Linked DNA regions of Homo sapiens: regions 1, 2 and 4 are each linked to region 3. The links are contacts of gene promoters, found by promoter capture Hi-C in human tissues and cell types (Jung and others, 2019). All regions are on one chromosome and are shown on one strand. Each heading gives the region's core, a stretch centred on a gene start or on the middle of the fragment in contact. The rest is flanking DNA. Distances are from core to core; before and after follow the strand shown. Region 1 holds the start of ZFP42 (ZFP42 zinc finger protein). Region 2 has its middle 83 kb from the start of LINC02492. Region 3 holds the start of FAT1 (FAT atypical cadherin 1). Region 4 holds the start of TRIML2 (tripartite motif family like 2).

Region 1 (2,700 bases), core at 64-2,563, 1.3 Mb after region 3:
AGTGAGGTGAGACGGTGCCACTGCACTCCAGCCTGGGGGACAGAGAAAGACTCCGTCTCAAAAAAGAAAAAAAAAGAGAAAGAAAAGAAAGGAAGGAAGGAAGGAAGGAAGGAAGGAAGGAAGGAAGGAAGGAAGGAAGGAAGGAAAATTATATTTTATTGGCCAACCTCAAAATTGAAGCTTATTCAGAAACAGATTTAAAAAAAGAAAAAAGTGGAGAACTGCTCCCAGATATATATGCAGAAAAGCTTCAAGTCAACATTTAGGAGGTTTTTAAATATCGATCTGGGTTTCGTTCTAATGGTCTGGGTGTACTTATACGACCTATTACATTTCACTAGACTGTAGCCAATAGTGAGCGTTGACTGACCATTGCTTTCAAAGTGAGTTGTGTTGCCTTTAGCAATACAGTCACATTAATGGCCAGAAAAAGAAAAAAGAAAACAAACACTGGGGGTGTTTGAAACAACTGGGGGTAGGGTGGGGTGGGAAAGGTGTGGGGGTTTGCGTTCGAGTCAACCTCTATTTCGGGGGGTAAAAACTGCCTCCTCCGCTTGATTTTTTTCCTCGATCTGCAAAAGCGTAAATGTTTTGTTTTGTTCTATTGAGATGGAGCCTCGCTCTATCACCCAGGCTGGAGCTTAGTGGCGCGATCTCGGCTCACTGCAACCTCCGCATCCCGGGTTCAAGCGATTCTCCTGCCTCAGCCTCCTGAGTAGCTGGGATTACAGGCGAGCACCACCATGCCTGGCTAATTTTTGTATTTTTCGGTAGAGACGGGGTTTCGCCATGTTGGCCAGGCTGGTCTCGAACGCTTGACCTCATGTGATCCCCCCGTCTCGGCCTCCCAAAGTGCTGGGACGACAGGCGTGAGCCACCGCGTCCGGCCTAAAAGGGTAAATGTGATTACACCCACGCGTATTTGTTCAACAGACATTTATTGAGCGCTCACCACGTGCCAACGCCGGGCGTCTGGGCTCTGGAGGCGCTGCCACGTGGCGGATGCGCAGTGCCCGGCGGCCGGGCTGAGGGGTGAACGCGGGGGTCAGGGGGCCCCGGGCTGAGGGTTTGCGTGCGGGCCGGGTGCCTGGGGGCCCCGGGCTGAGGGTGAGCGCGCCGCCCAGGTGCCAGGCGGCTCCGGGCAGAGAGTGAACGCGCGGGCCAGGTGGCTCCAGGGCGGCGCCCCAGGGCGGGGCCGGCCACGCCCTCCCTAACCCTGGCGGAGCTGATGGGTGGCTGTAGCCTGATTAGACCGCGTCAGTCCGGAGGGTGGGTCTTGGGAGGGGGCGCAGGGCAGTCCACGTTTCCACTGCAGTTTCTCCTTTGTTTTACGTTTGGGAGGAGGTGGCATTGGAAATAGCAGAGTGCTTCGCGGTAACAGGGGTGAGTCTTGTTTCATGGAACTTTTTTCAAATGGGGAGAAGGGGGTTGTGTTGCTCACTACTTGGAATGTGTCGGTCAAAGGGGTTAGATAGTCAGGGAGGGGAAGCGTGTTCTCATCCTGGGACCAGGCCGGAGCCGGCCTCGCCGGGAGACTTGTAGCCCTCGCCCTGCGGTGACCCGTGGCTGGCCACTGGCCTCAAATGTTGAAAACGGGCAGATGGGCAAGTAATACACTCTCAAGAAAGCAAGTGTCTGGCGGTGATTTCCTAAATTGCATTTTTTATTTTATTTCAAAACTTCATGTAAATATGTTTCCTTACAATATCTGGCTAAGTCTTTTCTATATTAACATGCTTACATTGTGATCAAGACACCAGTCTCTTCCCTTTCTTTTCCTCTCCTCTTATCTCTGGAGATGGCAATACCCCCAACTCAAATTACTCTAGCAAAAAACCTAGGAGACTCTTTCTTTTCTTTTTTCTTTTTTTTTGGAGACAGTCTCGCTCTGTTGCCAGGCTGGAGTGCAATGGCGCGATCTCGGCTCACTGCAACCTCCGTCTCCCGGGTTCAAGGGATTCTCCTGCCTCAGCCTCCCAAGTAGCTGAGATTACAGGCGCCCTTCACTGCGCCCGGCTAATTTTTGTATTTTAGTAGAGACGGGGTTTCACCATGTTGGTCAGGCTGGTCTCGAACTCGTGACCTCAGATGATCCGCCCGCCTCAGCCTCCCAAAGTGCTGAGATTACAGGCGTGAGCCACCGCGCCGGGCGAGACTCATTCTTGATTCCTGTTTCCCTTCCGCTCTTCATCCAATCCACCGGCGAGCTGCAGGGCGAGGGGGTGGTTCTTTCTCCTGTTTTCCCGCTCTCCCTGCATTTCATCTCCTCTGCCGCCATCTGCTCCAAACCCCTGGCAGCCCTTCGCGGGATTCCCAAATCTAATAGATTTTTCTGTTCTCCCCAAATCCATTCTCCATGCAGCTGTCCGGCCCATCTTCTAACCTAAAAAAACTTGCTGTTTGCTTGTTGGAAGCCCTGTAATGGTTTCCTTGGGACCTGGGATGAAATGCAAATGGTCCCGGGGCTCACCGTCAGCCCCGCGCCTGGGCCTCGCCCCAGCCCCCACCTTCCTGCCCGCCATAGCTGTAGGGAGCATGGAGCATGGAGCGTGGAGCGTGGAGCATGGAGCATGGAGCGTGGAGCATGGAGCATGGCCTGCAGCCCCCGGGGAGCGCCGGCAGCCTGGAACCAGCAGGCTTCGCTCGTCTCTTCCCACCCCCGTGCACTTTTCCTCCTGCCCACATCTGGCTCCGATGGCC
Region 2 (2,700 bases), core at 165-2,664, 1.0 Mb after region 3:
TTCTTTGACTTTTTAATAATAGCCATTCTGACTGGTGTGAAATGGTATCTCATTGTGGTTTGGATTTGCATATTTCTGACAATTAGTAATGTTCAGCATTTTTTCATATGTTTGTTGCCTTACCGTGTGTCTTTAGAAGTGTCTGTTTATGTCCTTTGCCCACTTTTTAATGGGGTTGTTTTTTGCTTGTTGATGTAAGTTTCCTATAGATTCTGGATATTAGACCTTTGTTGGATACATAGTTTGTGAACATTTTCTCCCATTTTGTAGGGTGTCTGTTTACTCTGATGATTTATTTTGCTGCACAGAAGCTCTTTAGTTTAATTAGGTCCCACCTGTCAATTTTTGTTTTTATTGTGATTGCTTTTGGAGTCTTAGCCATAAATTATTTGCCAAGGCCGGTGTCTAGAGTGGTAATTCCTAGGTTTCCTTCTAGGATTCTTATAGTTTTGAGTTTTGCATTTAAATCTTTAATTCATCTTGGGTTAATTTTTCTATATGGTAAAATGGAGTGATCCAGTTTTAATCTTCTGCATATGGCTAGTCACCTATCTCAGTGTTATTTATTGAATAGGGAGTCCTTTCCCCATTGCTTATTTTTGTTGACTTTTGTTGAAGACCAGATGGCTGTAGGTGTGCAGCTTTATTTCTGAGTTCTCTATTCTGGTCCATTGGTCTATGCATCTATTTATGTACCAGTACCATGCTGTTTTGGCTACTACAGCCTTATAGTACAGTTTGAGGTCAGTTAATGTGATGCTTCTGGCTTTGTTCTTTTTGCTTAGGATTGCAGTGTCTATTCAGGCTGCTGCTTTTTTGGTTATACATAAATTTTAGAATGGTTTTTCCTACTTCTGTGAAAAATGGCATTGGTGATTTTATAGGAATAGTGTTGAATCTGTAGATTGCTTTGGGCAGTATGGCCATTTTAACAATGTTGATTCTTCCTATATATGAGCATGGAAAGTTTTTTTATTTGTTTGTGTCATCTATGATATTTTTCAACAATGTTTGGTAGTTCTCCTTATAGAGATCTTTCACCTTCTTGGTTTGGTGTGTTCTTAGGTATTTTATTTTTGTGTGGCTATTGTAAATGGGATTGTTTTCTTGTATTGTAAATGGAAATGTTATTGGTTTATAGAAATGCTACTGATTTTTGTACATTAATTTGTATCCTAAAACTTTACTGAAGTCATTTATCAGTTCCAGGAGCCTTTTGGCAGAGTCTAGGATTTTCTAGATATAGAAGTATATAATCAGCAAAGAGAGATCATTTGACTCTTTTTTCTATTTGGATTCCTTTTATTTATTTTTCTTTTATAATTGCTCTGGCTAGCACTTCCAATACTATGTTGAGTAGGAGTGGTTAGCATGAGCATCCTTGTCTTGTTACAGCTCTCAAAGGTGGGGATGGTTCCAGTTTTGTCCATTCAGTATAATGTGGGCTGTGGTTTTGCCATTGATGGTTCTTATTATTTTGAGATATGTTTCTTCACTGCCTAGTTTCTTGAGCATTTTTTTATAAAGGGATGTTGGATTTTATGGAAAGATTTTTCTGCATCTATTGAAATATCATATGGTTTTTGTTTTTAATTTTGCTTATGTGGTGAATCACATTTATTCATTTATGTATGTTGAACCAACCTTGCATTTCAGGAATGAAACTATCTGTATTGCAGTGAATTAACTTTTTGGTGTGCTATTGGATTTAGTTTGCAAGTATTTTGTTGAGGATTTTTGCATATCTATGTTCATCAGGAATTTTGGCCTGTAGTTTTCTTTTTTCATTGTATCTTTGCCAGGAATTTGTATCAGGGTGATGCTGGCTTTGTAAAATGAATCAGGGAGGAGTCTCTTCTCAATTTATTTGAATAGTTTCAAATAAATAGCTTTTTTTTTTTTGTATATCTGGTAGACTTCAAATGTTAATCCTTCTAGTCCATGGATTTTTTTTTTTGGTTGGTAGGTTTTTTATTATTGGTTCAATATTATAACTCAATATTGGTCTGTTCAGTGTTCAATTTCTTCCTGATTCAATCTTGGGAAATTGAGTATTTCTAGGAATTTAACAATTTTGTCTAGATTGTCTAGTTTATGTGCATAGAGCTGTTCACAATACTGCCTGAGTATCTTTTGTATTTCTGTGAAAACGGTGGGAAAGTCATCTTTGTTGTTTCTGCTTCTGCTTATGTGAATCTTCCTTTCTTTCATTCTTTCTTTCTTTCTTTCTTTCTTTGTTAATCTAGCTAGTAGTCTATTGATCTTGTTTATCCTTTCAAATAACCAACTTTTGGTTTTGTTGATACTTTGTATGGGTTTTTTGTACCTCAATTTTGTTCAGTTCTGCTCTGATTTACTTCTTTTCTTCTGCTAGCTTTGAGGTTAGTTTGTTTTTGTTTTTCTAGTTCCTCTAAGTGTTATGTTCGATCATGAATTTTAGACCTTTCTGTGTTTTTGAGGTAGGTGAGTAGTGCTATAAATTTTCCTCCTAACACTGCTTTTGCTGCATCCCAGATATTTTAGCACAGTGTGTCTCTATTTTCATTTATTTCAAATAATATTTTTAATTTCTGCTTTAATTTTGTTGTTTCCCCAAAAGTCATTCTGAAGCAAATTGTTTAATTTCCGTGTAATTGTGTGGTTTTGAGAGATCTTGCTCATATTGATTTCTTTTTTTATTCCACTGCAGTCTGTGAGTAT
Region 3 (2,700 bases), core at 94-2,593:
ATCAGAGCTGTCTTCCTAAGACAAAAAGACAAAGACAAATATCACAATTAACTATTAACTGGAGAAACACCTTTTCAAACGTCCCTGTAACAACTGGATGTGTTGGACAGCATAACCAAACTCATTAAGAATAGTGTGAAAAACATCACCATTACCTAGTTCTCACACACAGATACCTTCTTAAACTATCGAAACCTGTATCTGAATATACGAAGCATTAAGAATCTGCTTTTGAAAAGGAAATGAATATCTGAAGGTCATTTTCTTTTCAATCTTTTCTCATACTAATAATCACTGTTAATATCCACTTTTAAAAAATCGCCTCTATCAGGCACCCGGGAATTGCTTAACAAAAGCCACTTAATGAAACCACAGTTCAGACAAAAAAAAAAACTTAACTGCATAGAAAATATTTATGAGTTTACTTTCCTAACTCATACAATTGCGTCCTTGTTTCCAAAGCCTTGCAATTCACATCAGCGGGAACAAAAAAATCTAACACACAGCAGAAAGCTGGCTCTCTAAAAGAAAGCATTTTTTTTTAAAGGCAATGAAGGACCAAAAACTCTTTCTTTTAAAAAGATCTTAGAAGTTCCTCCTCCAGAGAAGACAGAAAACACTGACAAACCGCACATTGTGCAGATGTTCAGCCCCGAAATGCAGCCTCGCAGCCCTTCACTCCGCAGTCCACCGGTTGCATCTGCACCTCCGGGCAGCGCTCCTGCAGGGCGCAAACACCCAGAGACCCAGGGACCCGGCAGCCCCGCGCAGGCCTCCCGCGTGCACCGCTCAGCGAGCGGGTCTTTCGCAGACGGCGGGATGCCCCAGGAGACCGCGAGGCCGGCGCAGCCCGGCGAGCTCCCGGAGGGAAGGCGGCGTGTCAGAAAGGATCGGACCCCAGCAATGGCCCCGGATCGGTCCCGCGCGGTCGCCTCCTTTTCCCGCTCCGCCGCCGGGACCCCCCTAGCCAGTGCTGAATTTCCCAACTGGGAAGGACCGAGTCACTCCACCCTCCGGGAAGTCGCGCGCTCATCCGTTTTCGGCAGCGCCGGAGCCCGAGCCGGGGACCGGGCGGACACCCACAGAGTCCGCACCGCAGCGCGCTGCACGCTCTCGCCCCCGCCCGCCGGCCCGCGCCCCAGCGAACTAACCGCAAAGTTGGCCCGAAGTGGCGACGGCGCTCTCGTGGAGCTCACCCGCCGTCTCAGCGCGCCCCCGAGCAGGGACCGGGCCTGCCGGGGCCCTCGCCGGGCTCGCGCGTCCGCATGGTACCTGCCGCACGAGCCGCTCCCGCGCCCTCTCCCCGCGCCCGGCCGCCCAGCTCGGCGCCGGCGCCTCACGCTCCCCGAGCGCAGGAGATCCCTCCGCCCCGGCCCCGCCCGCCGGCGCCGGCGCTCATTTCTCGGGCGCGGAAACTCGAGCCCACTTTCCCCGGCTGCCGGCTCTGGGACCGCGGGCTCGGCCACGCAGTCCCGCCCGGACCCAAAGAGCCCCAGTCCCTGCGAACACCAGGTCCGTGCTGGGAGACGAGAAGGCGCCCAGCGGGGTCTAGCGCGGCTCCGAGGGGCAGGGCGAGGCTTGTGATGCCGAGGTTAGTTACGGCCAGCCACAGGCGCTGTGCAAGGAATTGGGGAAAGCTCCCTGCCAAGAAAGGGAAACGTTAGCTTAGCTAAAAAAAAAAAAAAAAAAAAAAGGCTGGGGCCTAATGAGAAAGCTTCCCAGAGGCATCCCTTTAGCTTTTCCATAGCCTTCTGGGAGCCCCTGAATCTGCATTTGAATGGCGCGGCTCTGGGTCCGCGAAGGTTTGGTGGGCTGAAGTCGTCCTTCAGGTCTCCAAAGGAATGCAGCTAGGTCGGAATCTACTTCCTCCTTCAATCCCCAGAAAATGGAAACGCTTCCCCCGCGACCTTTTTCTGCCGAGTTAGACCCCAGGCCCTCCCCGCCGCGGGCGCCTGGCCTCCCCCGCTGACACCCCGGACGCCCAGGCCTGTGGGACAAAAGGCAGTCGCGGCGTCCCGCGGGCTTCCTAGCCCGGGAGTCGGCCCCAGGGGCCCCAAAGCGTGACCCCAGGCCGACAACTGCAAGTTCCTAGGCAGAGGGGAAGCCCCAGCGCCGAGAAGCCCGCTCCGAGAACTCCCCGCGCCGGGCGCCCAGCCTGAGCGTCCCGGGCGCGGAGCCCATCCCCGGTGCGGGCAGGGCTCCAGCCGCAGGCTCGGCGCAGGGCGGACTCGGCCGAAGCCCGGAGGGCCGGAGGCGCTGGGACGCAGCCCGGACAAGAGGGCGGACTTGATCTCGGAAAGTTTGTGGGACTCAGGCATTTTAACACTGGGAAGACAAAGAGATCCGATTTCCCTGGGACTGGTGAGGGGAGCTTGGCGGGGAGGGGAACGGCAGGGCAGTCAAGTGTGAAAGAGAATTTCCTGGGTTCAAAGTTAACGCAGTCACCTTATAAGCCATCTTAGAGGTGACCGGAAAAAATAATAATAATAAAGGTGTCTAGCAGGTTGTGGCTGGGAAGGAAAAATAATGCCTGCAAGATGAGTGTGCCGATTCGTAGCCCTATATTCCCTGCCCACCAGTTGGAATACACATAGATTCACACATCCAGCAAATGCAAACTCCATCATCCAAAGACGTGTTTGTCCCGGCCATAATTGCTCCAAGTGCTTACAGGTCAATTTCATACATGGAACACCTCGA
Region 4 (2,700 bases), core at 17-2,516, 1.4 Mb after region 3:
CCGCTCAGGATCTCAACCCAGTGGCTCTCTTCCCCCAAACTCATTCCTTTAGAGCCACAGTTTAAGCCTTCCTTTCACCAATTCAACTATTGTTTTCCAAATTTATATTCTGTCCTGCCCTCCTCGTCCATCTCCAGCTCCTCTCTGCTCAACCACCAGAATACTATTTTAAAACCAAAACCAAGTGAGCAGGTTTGTGGTCACTTTCTATGGCATTAGAGTAAGATCGAAGTGGGTAATAACCCCGTCCTATACAATCTGGCCTCCTGCCTTCTTCTGATCTCTCTATAGCTTTCCCCCATCACTGTCAATCTAGCTGCCTCTAATTCATCACAGCCCTTCCCCCTTCCGTGGCCAACAGAGCTCTTCTCTCATATTTTTGCAATTCCAGCTGCCTCTTCTTTCTTCTCTTCAGTTCTCAGCTCAAATGTCTTCCCAAGAGAGACCTTTCCATCACTACTCAATTTGAAATACCTTCCCACTACTCATCTCCTTATTTTATTTTCTTAGTAGCGAAAAGATTTTATCTTTCTATGAACAAGTTTACTTGTGGGTCACTCTCCATCCATAAGAAACTAAGTCCTTGAGATGCCCTGTGTCTACATCTGACATACTCGATGCACAATAAATATTGTAAACGATATTTTATGTTAAACCAGTAAAAATTGAAGGTGTAATGAGAGAGGGACAGAGACTAAATATTTTTACAGAAACAGCAAAGGAAAATTGACGAATTAAGTCCCCAGCATGTTGTCTACCCTTATTTTGTTTTTCCTAATATTTTTCTTCAGGCTTTTTCCTGATAACACACAGATACACACACACACACATAGATTCTAAGATCAAGTTTAGAAATCTAAAGAAACAATTATTAAGAAAATGATCTATAGAGAAAATCTCACTTACTTTCTTTGTAGCAATCCTGGGTATTTCCTTTTTTTTTTTTTTTTTTTTTTTTGAGACAGGGTCTTGCTCTGTCACCCAGGCTGGAATGCAGTGGCGCAATCTCGGCTCACTACAGCCTCGAGCTCCCAGGCTCAAGTGATTCTCCCACCTTGACCTCCTGAGTAGCTGGGATTACAGGCGCTGCACGACCACACCCGGCTAATTTTTGTATTTTTTGTAGAGACGGGGTTTCAGTATTTTTCCCAGGCTGGTCTTGAACTCCTGGGCTCAAGCAATCTGCCTGCTTCAGCCTCCCAAAGTACTGGGATTACAGGAATGAGTCACCACACCGAACCAAGGTATTTCCTTTAGGGAAAAAGCTGGAACAGTGGAGACTGAAGAGATTTTATCTGTTCAATTCCTCCCTCAGCCCCGCCCTCACACCATCAGGAAGGCGTCTGTGAAGTTTCTTATCATATTCACACAATTAATCTCATTAGAACCACCTGAGTTTATTAAAACGCAAGCCTCTTCACAGGGTCTCTGATTCCAGAAATCTACGGTGGGGTCCGTAATTTACATTTTTAATGGACTCCCAGAAAATGCTTAATAGCCCTGACCTTGGTTGGATAAATATCTTGTTTTATCTCCAGTGCCATGTACAGTGCCTAACACCTCTAGCTCCTTAAGGTTTGGGGTTTTCTTTCTTAATGAATCTAGTGTATATTGACAATTTCACAGGAAAGAAGCCTTCGAGCTAACACTCAAGACTGTGTTTGTTCCTTAGTAGAAAATAATGCCTGACTTGTTAGTTTCTAGAACGTTTGCTGGAGAAGTGTTCATTCCAGTATCTGTGGAAAGAAAAACCAAGAGTAGGGATAACTGCCTATGGAATCTGTCACAGATGGGAGGTCAGGGAACAATCCCAGATAATTCATACTTGATATTTGGCTTCAGTGAGGAGGAACTCTTCACAGCTTTCTAAGTTTTATAGTTTTGTCCCCGAGGGTTTTTATTGCATCAGTCAGTCAATCCCCTGCTAATCAAACCAGGGAGTTTTTTTCTTTATGCTGCTGACAGGATAATGAGAATTCTTCTGCTTTGCTTATCTGATCTTTCAGAACCTGGTTCTACCTTATGGAATCTCAATACACCGTTTCTCTTTTTCTTTTTTCTTTCTTTTTTTTTTTTTTTAGATGAGAGTCTCACTCTGTTGCCTAGGCTGGAGTGCGGTGGAGCGATCTCGGCTCACTGCAGCCTCCGCCTCCCAGGTTCAAGCAATTTTCCCACTTCAGCCTCCCGAGTAGCTGGGATTATAGGCGCCCACCACACCCAGCTAATTTTTGTATTTTTAGTGGAGATGGGGTTTCACCATGTTGGCCAGGCTGGTCTCAAACTCCTGACCTCAGGTGACCCACCCTCCTTGGCCTCCAAAAGTTCTGGCCACCGCGCCTGGCCATACACCCTTTCTCTTATCTCAGATGATTACCTACACCCACTCTCTTTTCCAAAACCCAATTCCCCAGCTTTCTTCAAATAGACCACATTTATTCCTGTGCCCCCTCCCCTCCTCAGCCAGTCCATCCTCCTTTACTTCTCTTATTTTTCTAATCCAATCTTCCTTTCTCTTCTAAGCCTGGGTACGGCCAACGTCTGTGAAGATACTCACACATACTTGTTGTCAGATACTCTGTCATTTACTCTCACCATCCCTTGAGCTTTCATAACTCTTGAGCTTACTCATCTTGACAAGAAAACTTTGTAATCTTTGAATCAAATGGAAAATAAACATCAAGCATATTGTCAGGTTTTGAA

Evidence for each region. The method cuts DNA at HindIII sites, captures the fragments that hold promoters and counts their contacts. A contact is called where the count stands out against the background at its distance.
Region 1: a contact is called between the fragment with the promoter of ZFP42 here and the fragment with the promoter of FAT1 in region 3, in 1 of the 25 tissues and cell types used here (bladder).
Region 2: a fragment that was not itself captured here is called in contact with the fragment with the promoter of FAT1 in region 3 in 1 of the 25 tissues and cell types used here (lymphoblastoid cells).
Region 4: a contact is called between the fragment with the promoter of TRIML2 here and the fragment with the promoter of FAT1 in region 3, in 1 of the 25 tissues and cell types used here (IMR-90 fibroblasts).

Annotation. Positions count from the first base shown.
Region 1 is chr4:187,994,458-187,997,157 of GRCh38, forward strand. It overlaps ZFP42 (ZFP42 zinc finger protein), which reads left to right and starts at 1,314. Exons shown (of 4, transcript NM_174900.5): 1 at 1,314-1,383. RefSeq lists enhancers at 502-1,481, 1,482-2,463, 2,078-2,372. The HindIII fragment of the contact is 6,716 bases long and covers 1-2,700 here.
Region 2 is chr4:187,754,619-187,757,318 of GRCh38, forward strand. No RefSeq gene overlaps it. Among named protein-coding and RNA genes, the nearest start is that of LINC02492, 83 kb to the left of the region's middle. The HindIII fragment of the contact is 4,721 bases long and covers 1-2,700 here.
Region 3 is chr4:186,722,513-186,725,212 of GRCh38, forward strand. FAT1 (FAT atypical cadherin 1) reads right to left here and starts at 1,344. Exons shown (of 27, transcript NM_005245.4): 1 at 1,152-1,344. RefSeq lists enhancers at 785-1,286, 1,787-2,700. The HindIII fragment of the contact is 8,530 bases long and covers 1-2,700 here.
Region 4 is chr4:188,108,337-188,111,036 of GRCh38, forward strand. It overlaps TRIML2 (tripartite motif family like 2), which reads right to left and starts at 1,267. Exons shown (of 8, transcript NM_173553.4): 1 at 907-1,267. RefSeq lists an enhancer at 1-298. The HindIII fragment of the contact is 13,208 bases long and covers 1-2,700 here.